Linked DNA regions of Homo sapiens: regions 1, 2, 3, 5 and 6 are each linked to region 4. The links are contacts of gene promoters, found by promoter capture Hi-C in blood cells and fetal thymus (Javierre and others, 2016). All regions are on one chromosome and are shown on one strand. Each heading gives the region's core, a stretch centred on a gene start or on the middle of the fragment in contact. The rest is flanking DNA. Distances are from core to core; before and after follow the strand shown.

Region 1 (2,700 bases), core at 170-2,669, 130 kb after region 4:
GCGGGTGCCTGTAGTCCCAGCTACTCGGGAGGCTGAGGCAGGAGAATGGCGTTAACCCAGGAGGCAGAGCTTGCAGTGTGCCGAGATTGCGCCACTGCACTCCAGCTGGGCAACAGAGCGAGACTCCATCTCAAAAAAAAAAAAAAAAGAAAAGGGAACTACATAAACAGAAGCCAATATGATATTTTGATAAATTTTTAATAAACAGTAAGCCAAAAATCTGGTAACTGACTTCCGTGAGCAAAAGCTCTCCCAGAGGTAAGCTGATGCACAGCAAACCATCTCTCCCACAGAAGCCCCAAAAGCTTTGGGAACAGTCATCCTGCATGATGAGAATGAGGTGTGAACTGTAAACAGCTAAAAGCAGTATATGAATTAGGCTCCCAGGTCCCACCCACCTAGGGTCTCCAGGGTGGGTGTTACTCAGCCAACACATGACTACCTAACATGCCAGGGGTGCTAGGTACTCTTAACAAAATCCAGGCTGGGCATGGTGATTCACACCTGTAATCCCAGCACTTTGGGAGGCCAAGGCGGGTGGATCACCTGAGGTCAGGAGTTCGAGACCAGCCTGGCCAATATGGTGAGACTCTGTCTCTATTAAAAACACAAAAATTAGCCAGGCATGCTGGTGTACACCTGCAACCCCAGCTACTCAGGAGGCTGAGACAGGAGAATCGCTTGAACCCATGAGGTGGAGGTTGCAGTGAGTAGAAATCGCACCACTGCACTCCAGCCTGGGCGACACAGAAGACTACATCTCAAAACAAAAAAACAAAAAACAAACAAAAAATCCAAGCAGGTAAGGGACAGAGTCATGAGACAGAGGGAGGCACAGGTGCTGTTTCAGACACGGTGATCAGGGCAGCTCTCTGATGAGGTTATACCTAGGCAGAAATGCAAGCGCTGTGAGAAGCCACTGAAAGGCTTCTCGCTCTGACTGGTATTTTGAGATCATCCTGACTGCTGTGGAAGAGGGAGGGGGTTGTGTAAGAGGAGATACCGGGGAGACCAGTTAGAAGGCAACTGTGTTAGTCCAGTGGAAGAAGGCAGTGTAGGCCAAAGTGACAGCGATGGGGATGATAAATGGTGGCTGGATTCTGGGCATCCTGTGGGGACAGAGCCAGAACACAACCTGATAGAGACAGCATGGCACGCTGAGAGACAGAAGGGGGGCCAGGAGGACACCAAGCAGCCTGGCCAAGCAAACTACAGAACTTTCCCTTTAAGGAGGTGGAGAAGCCTGGGGATAACAAACGGAGAAAGAAGATAGTGAATAACTGGTCCATGAATGACGGAAGATGGGGGAGATCCAACCAGAAAACAGTCCACAGAAGTGAGTCACTGAAGGAGAAAAGTGACCTTGCTAAGAACACGTGAGAAGAAAGGGAAGCGGGTATCCATCCTCTCAAACAGGAGGGGCTCTAAGAAAAGGGGACTGTGCAAGTGCCCCACACACAACCTGGACATCTGCAACAGCCGACCAGGCTAAATCTGGGTAATTTTCAGAAGGAACTGACATGTACTTAAGAATTTAAGTAAACAAGGATCGAATAACTGCTTTCCTCTGAAAAATTCTGAAGGCAAAGACTGCCGCGGGACTCTCAAAAGGCAGCTGGGGAGTGAGGGTTCAGCAGCTCACCTCAAACAGGGCCCCGCCTCCCTGCGGCTCACCTCAGGCAGGGCACTGTTTCCCTGGGCCCAAGGAACACCCAGAAGATTCCCGAACTTGACACTTGAGCTCATTAGCAGGCTCCTCCTCAGCAGCACTACCTGCAGGGAGGGAGACCCCAGGGGAAGAGGCAGTGAGTGGACTTCTGGGTGAGTCTGCATGCAGTGAGAGAAAGAATCACATACACCATGGAACTGCAGGGCAGAGCCCTGTCAGAGGCTCCAACCAAGCCCCACTGATGCCTGTCATAACTCTGGGTACTGACCACCGCACAACAGGAGACTCTGTGTCTTTTTCTCTAACCACTGATTTTCCCACCCCAACCCAGAAGGAGCCCCCGTCGGAGGGCAACAAGTAAATGAAGTGGGAATACAGACAAGCCTCCTCCATCTCCCCTCTGCAGGCTAGAATGAGGGGAGGTACAAGAGCTTGGAGTGAGAGTGTGGACTGAACTTTCCCATACCTGAAAGTAACTGAGAGTCAATAACAAACAAGGCTGTGACCAGAGCATCATCAGCTCTCCTCACGACGAGCACTAGGGAAGGGCTGACAGGAAGCCTGAGGCTGTGATGAGAAAAATGAAGCCACTACTGTGCCCTTATTACGTTGAGGTGCTTATCAAGCTGGTTACTTTAAATCTGAGGGAGAAGAAACATGAAACAAGTCACTTCGATGTGACCATATTAGAAGCTGGAGGTCGACAGCAGAAGACGAAACGGAGCCCAAAGTGGCTGCTTCTGGGGACACAGGATGGAAGAGGGAAGGTGCACAGCAGATAGCAGGTAGACCAGGAGCAGCGGGTAGACCAGGAGGCTTATTGTCTATTTTATTTAAAGCCTTTTACTATTTCTTTAAGCTTGATACGAATGAAAACAGGCCAGGCATGGTAGTTCACGCCTGTAATCCCAGCACTTTGGGAGGCAGAGGTGGGTGGATCACCTGCAATCAGGAGTTCAAGACCAGCCTGGCCAACATAGTGAAACCCTATCCTACTAAAAATACAAAAATTAGGCCGGGCACAGTGGCTC
Region 2 (2,845 bases), core at 57-2,556, 210 kb after region 4:
GGCCAAATTGGGAGGACCGCTTGAGCCCAGGCGTTTGAGACCAGCTGGACAACATAGCAAGACTCATCTCTACAAAAAAAAAATTTAATTAGCCATGAGAGGCTGGGTGCAGTGACGCAAGCCTGTAATCCCAGCACTTTGGGAGGCCGAGGTGGGTGGATCACCTGAGTTCAGGAGTTCGCGACCAGCCTGAATAACATGGTGAAACCCCGTCTCTACTAAATACAAAAAAATTAGCCGGGCATGGTGGCACATGCCTGTAATCCGAGCTACTTGGGAGGCTGAGACAAGAGAATCACTTGTACCTGGGAGGAGGAGGTTGCAGTGAGCCGAGATCACGGCATTGCACTCCAGTCTGGGCAACAAGAACAAAACTCCATCTCAAAAAAAAAGTTAGCCATGATGGTGCATGTCTGTAATCCCAGCTACTTGGGAAGCTGAGGCAGAAGGGTCACTTGAGCCCAGGAGTTCAAGGCTGCAGTGAGCCATGATGGGGCCACTGCATTCCAGCCTGAGTGACAGAGTGAAACCTTGCCTCTTAAATGAATAAAAATAAAGTAAGCTTTCTTCAACAAGTTTTCTTCCAACGCCACACACTCCATCACCATATTAATTTAAATTATTTAGTATGTAGCAGATTTACTTTGAGACCAAATCTGTGAAGTTGGTGATGATATTTAATAATTCTTTATTTCCCTTATGGGATCTTTGCAACTTAGAACACAATTATTACTCATTGTATCCGGGTCATTTAACATCTTGTCAGAATGCTAACATTAAATAAACCAGGCCAGGCGCGGTGGCTCACGCCTGTAATCCCAGCACTTTGGGAGGCCAAGGCGGGTGGATCACGAGGTCAGGAGATCGAGACCATCCTGGCTAACACGGTGAAACCCCGTCTCTACTAAAAATACAAAAAATTAGCCAGGTGAGGTGGCCAGCGCCTGTAGTCCCAGCTACTCAGGAGGCTGAGGCAGGAGAATGGCGTGAACCTGGGAGGTGGAGCTTGCAGTGAGCCAAGATCACACCACTGCACTCCAGCCTGGGTGATAGAGCGAGGCTCTGTCTCAAAAAAATAAATAAATCAGGCGCTGGGCGCGGTGGCTCACACCTGTAATCATAACACTTTGGGAGGCTAAGGCAGGCAGATCACAAGGTCAGGAGTTCGAGACCAGCCTGGCCAATATGGTGAAACCCCATCTCTACTAAAAATGCAAAAATTAGCCGGGCTTGGTGGCACGTGTGTAGTCCCAGCTACTCCGGAGGCTGAGGCAGGAGAATCGCTTGAACCCAGGAAGCCGATGTTGCAGTGAGCTGAGATCACACCACTGCACTCCAGCCTGGGTGACAGAGCAAGACTCCATCACACACACACACAAAAAAACAGGGAACACCAAACTTATTTAGTGATACCTAAATCTCGAAATGTGCACAGCAAAAAGAATGTAGCTATCGAGGCATTCACTGTTAAGATGAAAAGAAATGTAAGTGAAGGGACATTTATAACTTGAAGTTCTCATTTAAGAATTACTGGCCAGGGCCGGGCATGGTGGCTCATGCCTGTAATCTCAGCACTTTGGGAGGCCAAGATGGGTGGATCACGAGGTCAGGAGATTGAGACCATCCTGGCTAACAAGGTGAAACCCCGTCTCTACTAAAAATACAAAAAATTAGCCGCGCGTGGTGGCGGGCGCCTGTAGTCCCAGCTACTCGGGAGGCTGAGGCAGGAGAATGGCGTGAACCCGGGAGGCGGAGCTTGCAGTGAGCTGAGATCGCGCCACTGCACTCACTCTGGCCTGAGCGACAAAGCGAGACTCCATCTCAAAAAAAAAAAAAAAAAAAAAAAAGGCATTACTGGCCAGATGTGGTGGCTCATGCCTGCAATCCCAGGACTTTGGGAGGCCCAGCTGGGAGGAGAGGAGAGCTTGAGCCCAAGAGTTTGAGGCCAGCCTGGGCAACATAGTGGCACTTTGTTCTCCACAAAAATAATTAATAAAGCAAGTAAGCATTCCTATCACTAAAAGTACTTAAAAAAACAAATCAAGCTTAAACTTACAATAGGGGGTGGGAGAAGTGAATTAACTTTTTATTTTCATTAGTGCGTGCTCATGTGAAAGGAGCAGTTAGGCAATGGAGTGTTACCACTGCAGCCAGGCAGGTCTAGTGTAGATTCGTCCCCAAACCATGGTATTTGCCAGGCAGCTCTGAGGGTATGAACAAGGCATGTGCATTGTGTCCTGTTGTGTGTAATGCGTTTGTATGAAGCAGATTCTGTAAGAAGATGATGTTGGCTGAGATGTGGGCCAGCTGTACTTCACTGCTTCATTACAAGGGTAAGGCTGGCCAGGTGCGATGGCTCACGCCTGTCATCCCAGCACTTTGGGAGGCCAAGGTGGGTGGATCACTTGAGTTCAGGAGCTCAAGAGCAGCCTGGCCAACATGGCAAAACCCTATCTCTACTAAACATACAAAACAAAAAAAATAGCCGGGTGTGGTGGAGCACCTGTAAACCCAGCTGCTCGGGAGGCTGAGGTGGGCAAATCACATGAACCCAGGAGTTGGAGGTTGCAGTGAGCCAAGATGGCACCACCACTGCACTCCAGCCTGAGCAACAGAGTGAGACTCCGTCTCAAAAAAAGAGAAAACAAGGGTGGGGCTAAAAGGCTAATAGCTAACTGAAAATGAGCAGCTGTTTTTCATTCTGTGAGGAGCATCTTGTATAAGCCGTAGTGTTTGATCCACTCATCATTGCATGGGCAGCTGTGCGAGGTCAGACCTGTTACTGACACTTCCTTCTGTGCTCTGTTTGAAAAGAAAATCTCTGTATGCAAATGTTAACTGAGTA
Region 3 (2,700 bases), core at 116-2,615, 190 kb after region 4:
TCTCACTGACTTCAAGAATGAAGCCGCGGACCCTCGCGGTGAGTGTTACAGCTCTTCGGGTGGCGCGTCTGGAGTCTGTCCCTTCTGATGTTCAGCTGTGTTCGGAGTTTCTTCCTTCTGGTGGGTTCGTGGTCTCGCTGGCTCAGGAGTGAAGCTGCAGACCTTCGCGGTGAGTGTTACAGCTCTTAAGGTAGTGCGTCTGGAGTGTTCGTTCCTCCCGGTGGGCTCGTGGTCTCGCTGGCTCAGGAGTGAAGCTGCAGATCTTCGCGGTGAGTGTTACAGCTCATAAAAGCAGCGTGGACCCAAAGAGTGAGCAGTAGCAAGATTTATTGCAAAGAGCGAAAGAACAAAGCCTGCACAGTGTGGAAGAGGACCCGAGCGGGTTGCCACTGCTGGCTCGGGCAGCCTGCTTTTATTCTCCTATCTGGCCCCACCCACATCCTGCTGATTGGTAGAGCCGAGTGGCCTGTTTTGTCAGGGCGCTGATTGGTGCGTTTACAATCCCTGAGCTAGATACAAAGGTTCTCCACGTCCCCATCAGATTAGTTAGATACAGAGTTTCCACACACAGGTTCTCCAAGGCCCCACCAGAGCAGCTAGATACAGAGTGTCAATTGGTGCATTCACAAACCTTGAGCAAAACACAGGGTGCTGATTGGTGTGTTTACAAACCTTGAGCTAGATACAGAGTGCCGATTGGTGTATTTACAATCCTTGAGCTAGACATAAAGGTTCTCCATGTCCTCACCAGCAGCTAGATACAGAGTGTTGATTGGTGCACTCACAAACCTTGAGCTAAACACAGGGTGCTGATTGGTGTATTTACAATCCCTGAGCTAGATATAAAGACTCTCCACGTCCCCACCAGACTCAGGAGCCCAGCTGGCTTCACCTAGTGGATCCCGCACCGGGGCTGCAGGTGGAGCTGCCTGCCAGTCCTGCGCTGTGCGCTCGCATTCCTCAGCCCTTGGGTGGTCGATGGGACTGGGCGCCGTGGAGCAGGGGGTGGTGCTCGTCAGGGAGGCTGGGGCCGCATGGGAGCCCATGGAGTGGGTGGGAGGCTCAGGCATGGTGGGCTGCAGGTGCCCAGCCCTGCCCCGCGGGGAGGCAGCTAAGGCTCGGTGAGAAATCGAGCGCAGCGCCGGTGGGCCAGCACTGCTGGGGGACCCAGTACACCCTCCGCAGCCACTGGCCCGGGTGCTAAGTCCCCCATTGCCCGGGGCCAGCAGGGCTGGCTGGCTGCTCCGAGTGCGGCGCCCACCAAGCCCACGCCCACCCGGAACTCCAGCTGGCCCGCAAGCGCCGCACACAGCCCCGGTTCCCGCTCGTGCCTCTCCCTCCACACCTCCCTGCAAGCTGAGGGAGTGGGCTCCAGCCTTGGCCAGCCCAGAAAGGGGCTCCCACAGTGCAGTGGGGGACTGAAGGGCTCCTCAAATGCCACCAAAGTGGGAGCCCAGGCAGGGGAGGTGCCGAGAACAAGCGAGGGCTCTGAGGACTGCCAGCACGCTGTCACCTCTCACCAGCACTTCGGGAGGCTGAGGCGGGCAAATCACCTGAGGTCGGGAGTTCGAGACCAGCCTGACCAACATGTAGAAACCCCGTCACTACTAAAAATACAAAAATTAGCAGGGTGTGGTGGCGTGTGCCTGTAATCCCAGCTACTCGGGAGGCTGAGGCAGGAGAATCGCTAGAACCCAGGAGGCAGAGGTTGCAGTGAGTCGAGATCGTGCCACTTCACCCCAGCCTGGGCAACAGAGTGAGATTCTGTCTCAAAAAAATAAAAAATAAAAATAAAAAAATAAATGGGATCGGCCTGGCACAGTGGCTCTTGCCTGTAATCCCAGCACTTTGGGAGGCCGAGGCAGGTGGATCACAAGGTCAGGAGATTGAGATCATCCAGGCTAACAGGGTGAAACCCCGTCTCTACTAAAAATACAAAAAGTTAGCCGGGCGTAGTGGCAGGCGCCTGTAGTCCCAGCTACTTGGGAGGCTGAGGCAGGAGAATGGCGTGAACCCAGGAGGCGGGGCTTGCCATGAGCCGAGATCGCGCCACTGCACTCCAGCCTGGGCGACAGAGCGAGACTCCCTCTCAAATAAATAATAAATAAATAAATAAATGGGATCACATATGTGACCTTTTGACAGTGGCTTTTCTCACTTAGCATACCTTTGAGATTCATTCATATCTTATCGGTAGTTTCTTCCTTTTTCTTGGCGTGTGATTCCCTTGAATATGATCCCATGTATGGATGGGCCACAGTCTCTATCCATTCACTTATTGAAGGACATCTTAATTGTTCCACTTTTTAGCAGTTTTGAATAAAGCATTCATCTGCATATAGGTTTGAATATAAATTTTCAGGTGAATGTAAGTTTTCAGTTCACTACTTGAGTAAACACCTAGGAGTGGAATTGCTGCGTTGTGTGGTAAGTCTGTGTTCAACTTTATAAGAAACTGCCAAAATGTTTTCAAAAGCTGCTGTACATTTTACATTCCCACCACAATGAATGACAGTTGCTCTTGCTCTGAGTCCTCACAGATATTTGTCAGGGGTGTGTGTGTGTGTGTGTGTCTGTGTGTGTGTGTGTTTAGTTTTAGCCTTCTAATAAGTACATAGTAGTTTTTCATTATAGTTTTAATTTGCATTCACCTTTTGACAGATATATTGAACATCTTTTCATATATTTACTTTCCATCCA
Region 4 (2,700 bases), core at 72-2,571:
GATTTGTGCTATCCAGTTCTCGGAGACCTAACTGCAGTCATTTCTAACCTAATAACACTTGTTGGCTGGCATTCTGGGTGACATCCTGCCTTCCCTTTTACTTTTTTTTTTTTAATTAACAGTATCTTTCTGCAATTAATGTATAGCTGGAATTGAAATTGTTCACCTTCTGCATACACTTTGGGTGGGATCTACGTACGAAATCTTGATGTTAACCTTATCTTTGACACTCATATTATGTGTTAGATGGCGTATATATATCTAGTGTCAAGGGAAAATAAAAATATAGTAATTAAACTTATGATCTGTCTCTGAAAATAAAAAAAATAGATTAACCACACAAACACGCCTTCAGTTAATCTATCTGATTAAAAAACAAAACAAAGATGAGGAAGCTAAGAGCTAGAGATGCAGGATTTGTTTTTAAAAGACCACACACGAATCGGCGTCACTATTTCAACAAATACTAGAAAGGCCATATGCAAAATTTTAAACATCTATCCCAGCTGGGGGGAAAAATGGAAGTTAGACTAGAAGAAACCTTATTTTGTATTACTGAAAATATCTGGTTCAAACTTACCACCACCGCCGCCCACTCTGCGTCAATCTCCAGGTGCAGCCGTTATTCTCCACAGAACAAGAACGTCCGCCGTGAACGCCGGGGCCGCGCGAGGGACAGAAAGTGACTGAGGCAAGGGGTGACGATCACCGTTAAATTTTTTCATTGACGAAATTACCGTCTACCTAGAAATACGAAGCTAATACACTGCTACATTACTAAAGGGCTCAACACGCGCCTGATGACGATGCAAACACAAAATTCAGCACTTTCGTATATACCTGCAATAAGCAACTAGAAGGTTCGATGGGAGAAAGCGATCCCGTCACAAAGGCAGCAGCAACAGCAAAACAGAGAACGCGACTCCATTCACCAGCGGAGCGCGAAGAGCGGCGTCAGAGGTGAGTCTGAGGCCGGCTCGGCACGGCGGCGCCACCTCCCCGTGGCCTGACGTCACGCACGCGCACGCGCCCCGCCCCCATTGGTCCTACGCCCGCCCCTGCTGCGAACGCACGCACACGCACCCACAACACACACCGTTACGCACGCGCCCCAGCCTGGCGTTCAGGCCACGCTCCGCCCCCAGCCCGTCAGCCGCGCGCCCCGGGACCCTAGAGCCGGCGATTCGTCGCCGGCGCCGCAGCCGCCACTCTGTGCCGGACCCTGCGGGCCTTCGGCCCAGAGCGCGTCCGTGACGCACAGACCAGGCCCCTCTGCGGGGCGGCGCAGGAGCTCCTGGGAAACGTAGTTCGGCCTCGCGTCCCCCTCGGGCGGGACCGCGGACGCCTGGAGGCAGGCACTGAGGACGGGTGAGCATGCGGGCCTGTGGCTCGTTCACCCGGGACAAGTCCCTCGTGGGATCAGCCTGGCCCGCTGAGTTCTCCTGCGTGCAGGGATCGCCTCACGGGAGTCTGAGCAGCAGGGAGCCTGCCCGGGAGGCGGCGGTGGGAGAGGCCCTTGAGGGAGGAGGGGCTACTTACCGGGTGCGAGTGGAGCGCGGGGAGCGAGTGGGGACCAGGGGCGCGCGGGGCGGAGGGGTCCCGGGCTGGCTGCGGGTGCCACGCAGGGAGCGCTGGGGGGCCGGGGATGCGCGTTTGCCTCCTTCTCTAAGCAACACGGGAGGGCTAAAGGGTGCACGCCTCTGTCCAGCAGCCTCTCTTGAATCTCTAAACCTAGTAATGAGTTGAATCACAGCCATCGTTTTTTTCACCTATTGCCTTATACTGTGGTTGAATGCGATATGGTTTTATTTCTTTAATACTCTGGTGTATTCAATTGGCTGTTTCCCTTTGACTTCACCTATGCTCACAAGATTGTGTTTTAATCTTTTTGTGTACTATCCTTGCCCGTTATACTAACAAGATTTTACAAGCTTCATGAATAATTTGGACAGCACAGTCTCTCTTCTATTCTGTAAAACAGGTCACCACCCCTCACCGCCCCCCGCCCGCCTCCAAAAGTTTGGTGCTATTTGGTCTTAAAATATTTAGTACGCATTTAACTTCTGACTCAATTTTTTTTTTTTTTTTTTTTGAGACAGAGTTTCGCTCTTTGTTGCCCAGGCTGGAGTGCAATGGCGCCATCTTGGCTCACAGCAACCTCCGCCTCCCGGGTTCAAGTGATTCTTCTGCCTCAGTCTTGTGAGTTGCCGGGATTACAGACATGAGCCACCACGCCCAGCTAATTCTGTATTTTTAGTGGAGATGGGGTTTCTCCATGTTGGTCAGGCTGGTCTGGAACTCCCGACCTCAGGTGATCAGCCTGCCTCGGCCTCCCAAAGCGCTGAGATTACAAGCGTGAGCCACCGCACCCGGCCCTGACTCAATTTTTTAAAAAGTCTCATTGATTAGGTTTTTTAGTTCGTATTCTGTTTTAGATACCTTTCCTAGATAATTGTTTTTAATCTAATTTTTCAAATTTATTGGCATAAAATTGCCCATGCTATTTTATCACTGTAAGTAATTTCTATGGTGATTTTTAAAATCACCACTTTTTAATATTTTACTGCTGTAATTGTTATTTTTTTCTTTTTTGAACCTAATTATCTAGGCCTTTTTTTCTTGATTACTCCTATAAGGTATATGTGTACATAGTCTTTTCAAAAATGTAGATTTGGTTTTGGTTTTTTTGTTGTTTTGTTT
Region 5 (2,764 bases), core at 170-2,669, 260 kb after region 4:
TCAAATTAAGTATGTCTCAGAAATAAGACTTAAAAGATGCTGGTAATTTTTGGTTCTTGCAAGCCTATTCAAGTTTGATTTCTTTCCCTCAAATCAAAAAATCATTTTTTAAAACTAATAAATTCTCGTTCTTGTACAACTGAAGTACAGATTGAGTATCTGAAATGATTGAAACTAGACTGTTTAGATTTTGGATTGTTTCAGATTTTAGAATATTTTCATTATACTTACCAGTTGAGCATGTCTGAATCAAAATTCTGAAATGTTCCAGTGAGTATTTTTTTGAGTGTCTTGTTGGTGCTCAAAAAGTTTTGGATTTCACATTTCTGATTAGGGACATTCAGCTTAGGGATATTCAACTTGGAAAGTGGAAAGCTTTCCAAAATCCTATTCATACGTTAAAAATGCATATGTTGGTATATATATTTTGCATAAATGCAATCACACTACACATACTGTTGTAGCGTCAGCTTTTTTCTTTCTTTCTTTTTTTTTTTTGAGATGGAGTTTCACTGTGTTGCAGGCTGAAGTGCAGTGGTACGATCTCGGCTCACTGCGACCTCCGACTCCCAGGTTCCAGCCATTCTCCTGCCCCAGCCTCCCGAGTAGCTGGCATTGTAGGCACACACTACCAAGCCCGGCTATTTTTTTGTGTTTTTAGTAGAGACGGGATTTCACCATGCTGGCCAGGCTGGTCTCGAACTCCTGATCTCAGGTGATCTGCCTGCCTCAGCCTCCCAAAGTGCTGGGATTACAGGCGTGAGCCATCGCGCCCGGCCAGCTTTTTTCACTTACGGTGTTTTATGGAGCGCTTCACATGTCACTGCATCTACATCCAGCTCATCTTTTCATTATCTTAGGATAGTTTCTTTGTCACTTCCCTTATTGGTGGACATTTATTGTTTTGACTTTTTCTTACTATAAATAACACTGCAGTGACTCTTTCCCAAACTCTGCCTTCATGTCTGTTTTCTTGGGATGATTTCTCGGAAGGGAAGTCTGTGTCAGTGTTACTCAGAATGTGCCTATTCCTTTTTTTCTCTTTTTTGAGACGGAGTCTCGCTCTGTGGCTCAGGCTGAAGTGCTGTTGGTGCGATCTCGGCTCACTGCAACCTCCGCCACCCGGGTTCAAGCGATTCTCCTGCCTCAGCCTCCCGAGTAGCTGGGATTACAGGTGCCCGCCGCCACGCCTAGCTCAGATGGGGTTTCACAATGCTAGCCAGGCTGGACTTGAACTCCTGGCCTCAGGTGATCCACCTGCCTCAGCCTCCCCAAGTGCTGGGATTGCAAGTGTGAGCCCCCACACCCGGCCAGAATGTGCGTCTTTTAAATCTGCTGCAAGTGGCAGGTGGTCTTCTAGCAGTATGTTGAGAGTGTGCTGTTCTCACTGCAGGATTTTTTTTGTTTGGTAAAGATCAGGCTCTGTGAGATTCTTTGGTAACTGATAGTTTCAGGGATAGAAGACTAGGAAGTAGGTTTTAATAGGAAGAACTGATGCTCCGTTTCCTAGTCTAATAGATATCAGATTAAGTTCTCTATTTCTTGGCACAATGGGAAAGGCAGGGTGCTGGTCCCTAGCTGTCCCGCCTGCTTCAGGGCCTGGCTTCCCCATGCTGGGTGCTGGTCCTGGGCTTTCCTGCCTACATCAGGGCCTGGCTTCTCCACGCTGGGTGCTGGTCCTGGGCTTTCCCGCCTACATCAGGGCCTGGCTTCCCCGTGCTGGGTGCTGGTCCTGGGCTTTCCCGCCTACATCAGGGCCTGGCTTCCCCGCGCTGGGTGCTGGTCCTGGGCAGTCCCGCCTGTTCCAGGGCCTGGGTTCCCTGCACTGGGTGCTGGTCCTGGGCAGTCCCGCCTGTTCCAGGGCCTGGCTTCCCCACGCTGGGTGCTGGTCCTGGGTAGTCCCGCCTGTTCCAGGGCCTGGCTTCCCCGCGCTGGGTGCTGGTCCCGGGCCTTCCTGCCTGTTCCGGGGCCTGGCTTCCTCGCGCTGGGTGCTGGTCCCGGGCAGTCCCGCCTGTTCCGGGGCCTGGCTTCCCCGCGCTGGGTGCTGGTCCTGGGCAGTCCCGCCTGTTCTGGGGCCTGGCTTTCCCACGCTGGGTGCTGGTCCTGGGCAGTCCCGCCTGTTCCGGGGCCTGGCTTCCCCGCGCTGGGTGCTGGTCCTGGGCCTTCCCACCTGTTCCAGGGCCTGGTTTCCCTGTGCTGGGTGCTGGTCCTGGGCCTTCCCGCCTACATCAGGACCTGGCTTCCCCGCGCTGGGTGCTGGTCCTGGGCCTTTCTACCTGTTCCAGGGCCTGGCTTCCTTGCGCTGAATGCTGGTCCTGGGCCTCCCTGCCTGTTCCAGGGCCTGGCTTCCCCACGCTGGGTGCTGGTCCTGGGCCGTCCCGCCTGCTTCAGGGCATGGCATCCCTGTGCTGACTGCATGGTGGTGGTACTTTCTTATGGCTATTGTAATTTACCACAAGCTTAATGGATTTAAAAAACACAAATTTGCTGTCTTACTATAGTTATGGAGGTCCAGAGTCCGATATGGGTCTGATGGGGCTAAAATCCAGGTCTGAACAGGGCTGGTTTCTTCTGGAGGCTCCAGGGGAGAATTTGTTCTCTGCCTTTTCCAGGTTCCAGAGGTGCCACGTTCCTTGGCAGAGGTGGGCTGGAGGGGAGGGGTGCTCAGGCAGAAGGAACCACGTGTGTAGGGGCCCCTGAGCATAAGCAGGGCTGTGTGGTCGGAGCGTGTGGTGAGCGGCAAAGTCACACAAGGGAGCTTGGG
Region 6 (2,700 bases), core at 104-2,603, 230 kb after region 4:
CCCAGCTACTCGGGAGGCTGAGGCAGGAGAATTGCTTAAACCCAGAAGGCAGAGGTTGCAGTCAGCCGAGATTGCGCCATTGCACTCCAGCCTGGGCAACAGAGCAAGACTCTGTCTCAAAATAAAAAATAATAAAATAGAATAAAAATCATTATTTCCACTTAAAATAGTTCATAGCGGCTGGGCACAGTGGCTCACACCAGTAATCCCAGCACTTTGGGAGGCCAAGGCAGGCAGATCACCTGAGGTCAGGAGTTCAAGACCAGCCTGGCCAACATGGTGAAACCCTGTCTCTACTAAAAATACAAAAAAAAGCAGCTGGGTATGGTGGTGCATGCCAGTAGTCCCAGCTACTAGGGAGGCTGAGGCAGGAGAATCGCTTGAACCCGGGAGGCAGAGGTTGCAGTGATCCCAGATCCCGCCACTGCACTCCAGCCTGGGCAATAGAATGAGACTCCATCTCAAAAAAAAAAAAAAAGTTCATATCAAAAGGAAAATATAGGCTGCTCTGCCTGTGGAGTAGCTATTCTTTTGTTTCTTTACATCTCTAATAAACTTGCTTTCACTTACAAAAAAAAAAAAAAAAAAAAAAGGAAAATCCTAGCACTCTGGGAAGCTGAGGCAGGCAGATCACCTAAGGTCAGGAGTTCGAGACCAGAATACAAAAATTAGCCGGGTGTGGTGGTGCATGCCTGTAATCCCAGCTACTCAGGAGGCTGAGACAGGAGAGTTGCTTGAAACTGGGAAGCGGAAGAGGTTGCAGTGAGCCGAGATCATGCCACTGCACTCCAGCCTGGGCAACAGAGCAAGACTCCATCTCAAAAAAAAAAAAAAAAGGGCTGGGCACGGTGGCTCATGCCTGTAATCCCAGCAGTTTGGGAGGCCAAGGCAGGCAGATCACCTGAGGTCAGGAGTTCGAGCCCAGCCTGGCCAACATGGAGAAACCCTGTCTCTACTAAAAATATAAAATTAACTGGGTGTGGTGGCACATGCCTGTAATCCGAGCTACTGGGGATGCTAAGGCAGGAGAATCGCTTGAACCAGGGAGGTGGAGGTTGTGGTGAGCCGAGATTGCGCCACTGCACTCCAGCCTGGGCAACAGTAGCGAAACTCTGTCTCAAAAAAAAAAAAAAAGAAAATGTAAAAGGTAATTTTACTTTTCTGGTTTTAATAGAAGCAAATTCCTCAGTAATCTTTTTTTTTTTTTTTTTGAGACAGAGTCTCTCGCTCTGTACCCAGGCTGGAGTGCAGTGGCCGATCTCGGCTCACTGCAGCCTGCGCCTCCCGGGTTCAAGCAATTCTCCTGCCTCAGCCTCCCGAGTAGCTAGGACTACAGGAGTGCGCTGCCACATCTGGCTAATTTTTGTATTTTTTAGTAGAGACAAGGTTTCATCAGGTCGGGCAGGATGGTCTTGATCTCCTGACCTTGTGATCTGCCCATCCCAGCCTCCCAAAGTGCTGGGATTACAGGCATGAGCCACCGCACCCAGCCCATCAGTAATCTTTTAAAAATGTACTTATTAGCTCACTTCATTTTCACTTAAGAGAATTTCCATGTTTGATAATTTTTTATGACTCACTGACTATCTCAAAAGGTTTTCTGTGGCCAGGTGTGGTGGCTCACGCCTGTAATCCCAGCACTTTGGGAGGCCGAGACTAGCGGATCACCTGAGGTCAGGAGTTGGAGACCAGCCGGGCCAAGATGGCAAAACCCCATCTCTACTAAATATACAAAAATTAGTTGGGCCTGGTGGTGGGCACCTGTAATCTCAGGTACTCAGGAGGCTGAGGCGGGGGAGAATTGCTTGAACCCTGGAGACAGAGGTTGCAGTGAGCCGAGATTGTGCCACTGCACTCCATCCTAGGTGACAGAGTGAGACTCTGTCTCAAAAACAAATAAATAAATAAATAAATGGGTTTTTTTTGTTTGTTTTTTGAGACAGGGTCTCACTCTGTTGCCCAGGCTGGAGTCCAGTGGTGCTATCATGGCTCATTGCAGCCTCCACCTCCCGGGCTCAAGCAATCCTCCCACCTTAGCCTCCTACATTAGCCTCCCTAGTACAGGTGTGCATCACCACATCCGGCTAATTTTTTGTATTTTTGGTGGAGACGGGGTTTCACCATGTTGGCCAGGCTGGTCTCGAACTCCTGAGCTCAGGCAATCCACCCACCTTGGCTTCCCAAAGTGATGGGATGACAGGCTTGAGCTCCCAGCCAGCTGCTAGTTTTGAGTGGGGCCCAGAACAAGTGAAGGCTCTGCAACAGATGCAGGCTGTTGTGCAAGGTGCTCTACCACTTGGTCACATGACCCAGCAGATCCAATGGTGCTTGACATGTCAGTGGCAGAGAGCGATGCTGGGTGGAGCCTTGGCAGGCCCGCATAGGAGAATCACAATGTAGACTTTTAGGATTTTGGTGCAAAGCCCTGACATTGTCTGCAGATAATTACTCTTCTTTTTTTTTTTTTTTTTTTTTTTGACTTCAACGTTTTATAACAATAGAGAGTAGCTGAAAATACTACATGCTAACACAGACAATATGATACACAACCTCGGGGGACAAGTTGGCAGGGAGCACGTGGCAGAGGCCACAGGTTTAGACTAAGAGCCTTTTGATGGACTGCTGAATGGATTGGATCTGCTGTTTCAGCTGTGAGCCTTCTTTGATGGTGACAGAACAGGTGATGACAGGCCTGGAGAC

The links. Contacts are between HindIII fragments. The CHiCAGO score rates a contact against its expected background, and 5 or more counts as called.
Region 1: a contact is called between a fragment that was not itself captured here and the fragment with the promoter of ZNF891 in region 4, in 10 of 17 cell types (non-activated CD4 T cells, total CD8 T cells, M2 macrophages and 7 more). The highest score is 9.0, in non-activated CD4 T cells.
Region 2: a contact is called between a fragment that was not itself captured here and the fragment with the promoter of ZNF891 in region 4, in 17 of 17 cell types (M1 macrophages, M2 macrophages, erythroblasts and 14 more). The highest score is 19.7, in M1 macrophages.
Region 3: a fragment that was not itself captured here is called in contact with the fragment with the promoter of ZNF891 in region 4 in 13 of 17 cell types (erythroblasts, M1 macrophages, M0 macrophages and 10 more); the score reaches 11.6 in erythroblasts.
Region 5: a fragment that was not itself captured here is called in contact with the fragment with the promoter of ZNF891 in region 4 in 2 of 17 cell types (monocytes and neutrophils); the score reaches 6.7 in monocytes.
Region 6: a fragment that was not itself captured here is called in contact with the fragment with the promoter of ZNF891 in region 4 in 1 of 17 cell types (M1 macrophages); the score reaches 5.4 in M1 macrophages.

Annotation. Positions count from the first base shown.
Region 1 is chr12:133,000,706-133,003,405 of GRCh38, reverse strand. All of the region lies in intron 1 of ZNF26 (zinc finger protein 26), which reads right to left. Among named protein-coding and RNA genes, the nearest start is that of ZNF26, 16 kb to the right of the region's middle. The HindIII fragment of the contact is 2,223 bases long and covers 308-2,530 here.
Region 2 is chr12:132,918,382-132,921,226 of GRCh38, reverse strand. ZNF605 (zinc finger protein 605) reads left to right here. Exons shown (of 5, transcript NM_183238.4): 5 at 1-2,845. Among named protein-coding and RNA genes, the nearest start is that of CHFR-DT, 32 kb to the right of the region's middle. The HindIII fragment of the contact is 1,483 bases long and covers 565-2,047 here.
Region 3 is chr12:132,937,390-132,940,089 of GRCh38, reverse strand. All of the region lies in intron 3 of ZNF605 (zinc finger protein 605), which reads left to right. Among named protein-coding and RNA genes, the nearest start is that of ZNF605, 18 kb to the left of the region's middle. The HindIII fragment of the contact is 7,051 bases long and covers 1-2,700 here.
Region 4 is chr12:133,128,895-133,131,594 of GRCh38, reverse strand. ZNF891 (zinc finger protein 891) reads left to right here and starts at 1,321. Exons shown (of 2, transcript NM_001277291.2): 1 at 1,321-1,368. ZNF10 (zinc finger protein 10) reads right to left here and starts at 968. Exons shown (of 5, transcript NM_015394.5): 1 at 841-968. RefSeq lists an enhancer at 586-865 and silencers at 916-1,155, 1,526-1,705. The HindIII fragment of the contact is 7,004 bases long and covers 1-1,933 here.
Region 5 is chr12:132,873,908-132,876,671 of GRCh38, reverse strand. The region is part of intron 3 of CHFR (checkpoint with forkhead and ring finger domains); the gene reads left to right. Among named protein-coding and RNA genes, the nearest start is that of CHFR, 12 kb to the left of the region's middle. RefSeq lists enhancers at 1,396-2,091, 2,092-2,764. The HindIII fragment of the contact is 2,084 bases long and covers 378-2,461 here.
Region 6 is chr12:132,900,267-132,902,966 of GRCh38, reverse strand. It overlaps the pseudogene LOC647503. Among named protein-coding and RNA genes, the nearest start is that of CHFR-DT, 14 kb to the right of the region's middle. RefSeq lists a cis regulatory region at 1,124 and an enhancer at 1,040-1,209. The HindIII fragment of the contact is 6,341 bases long and covers 1-2,700 here.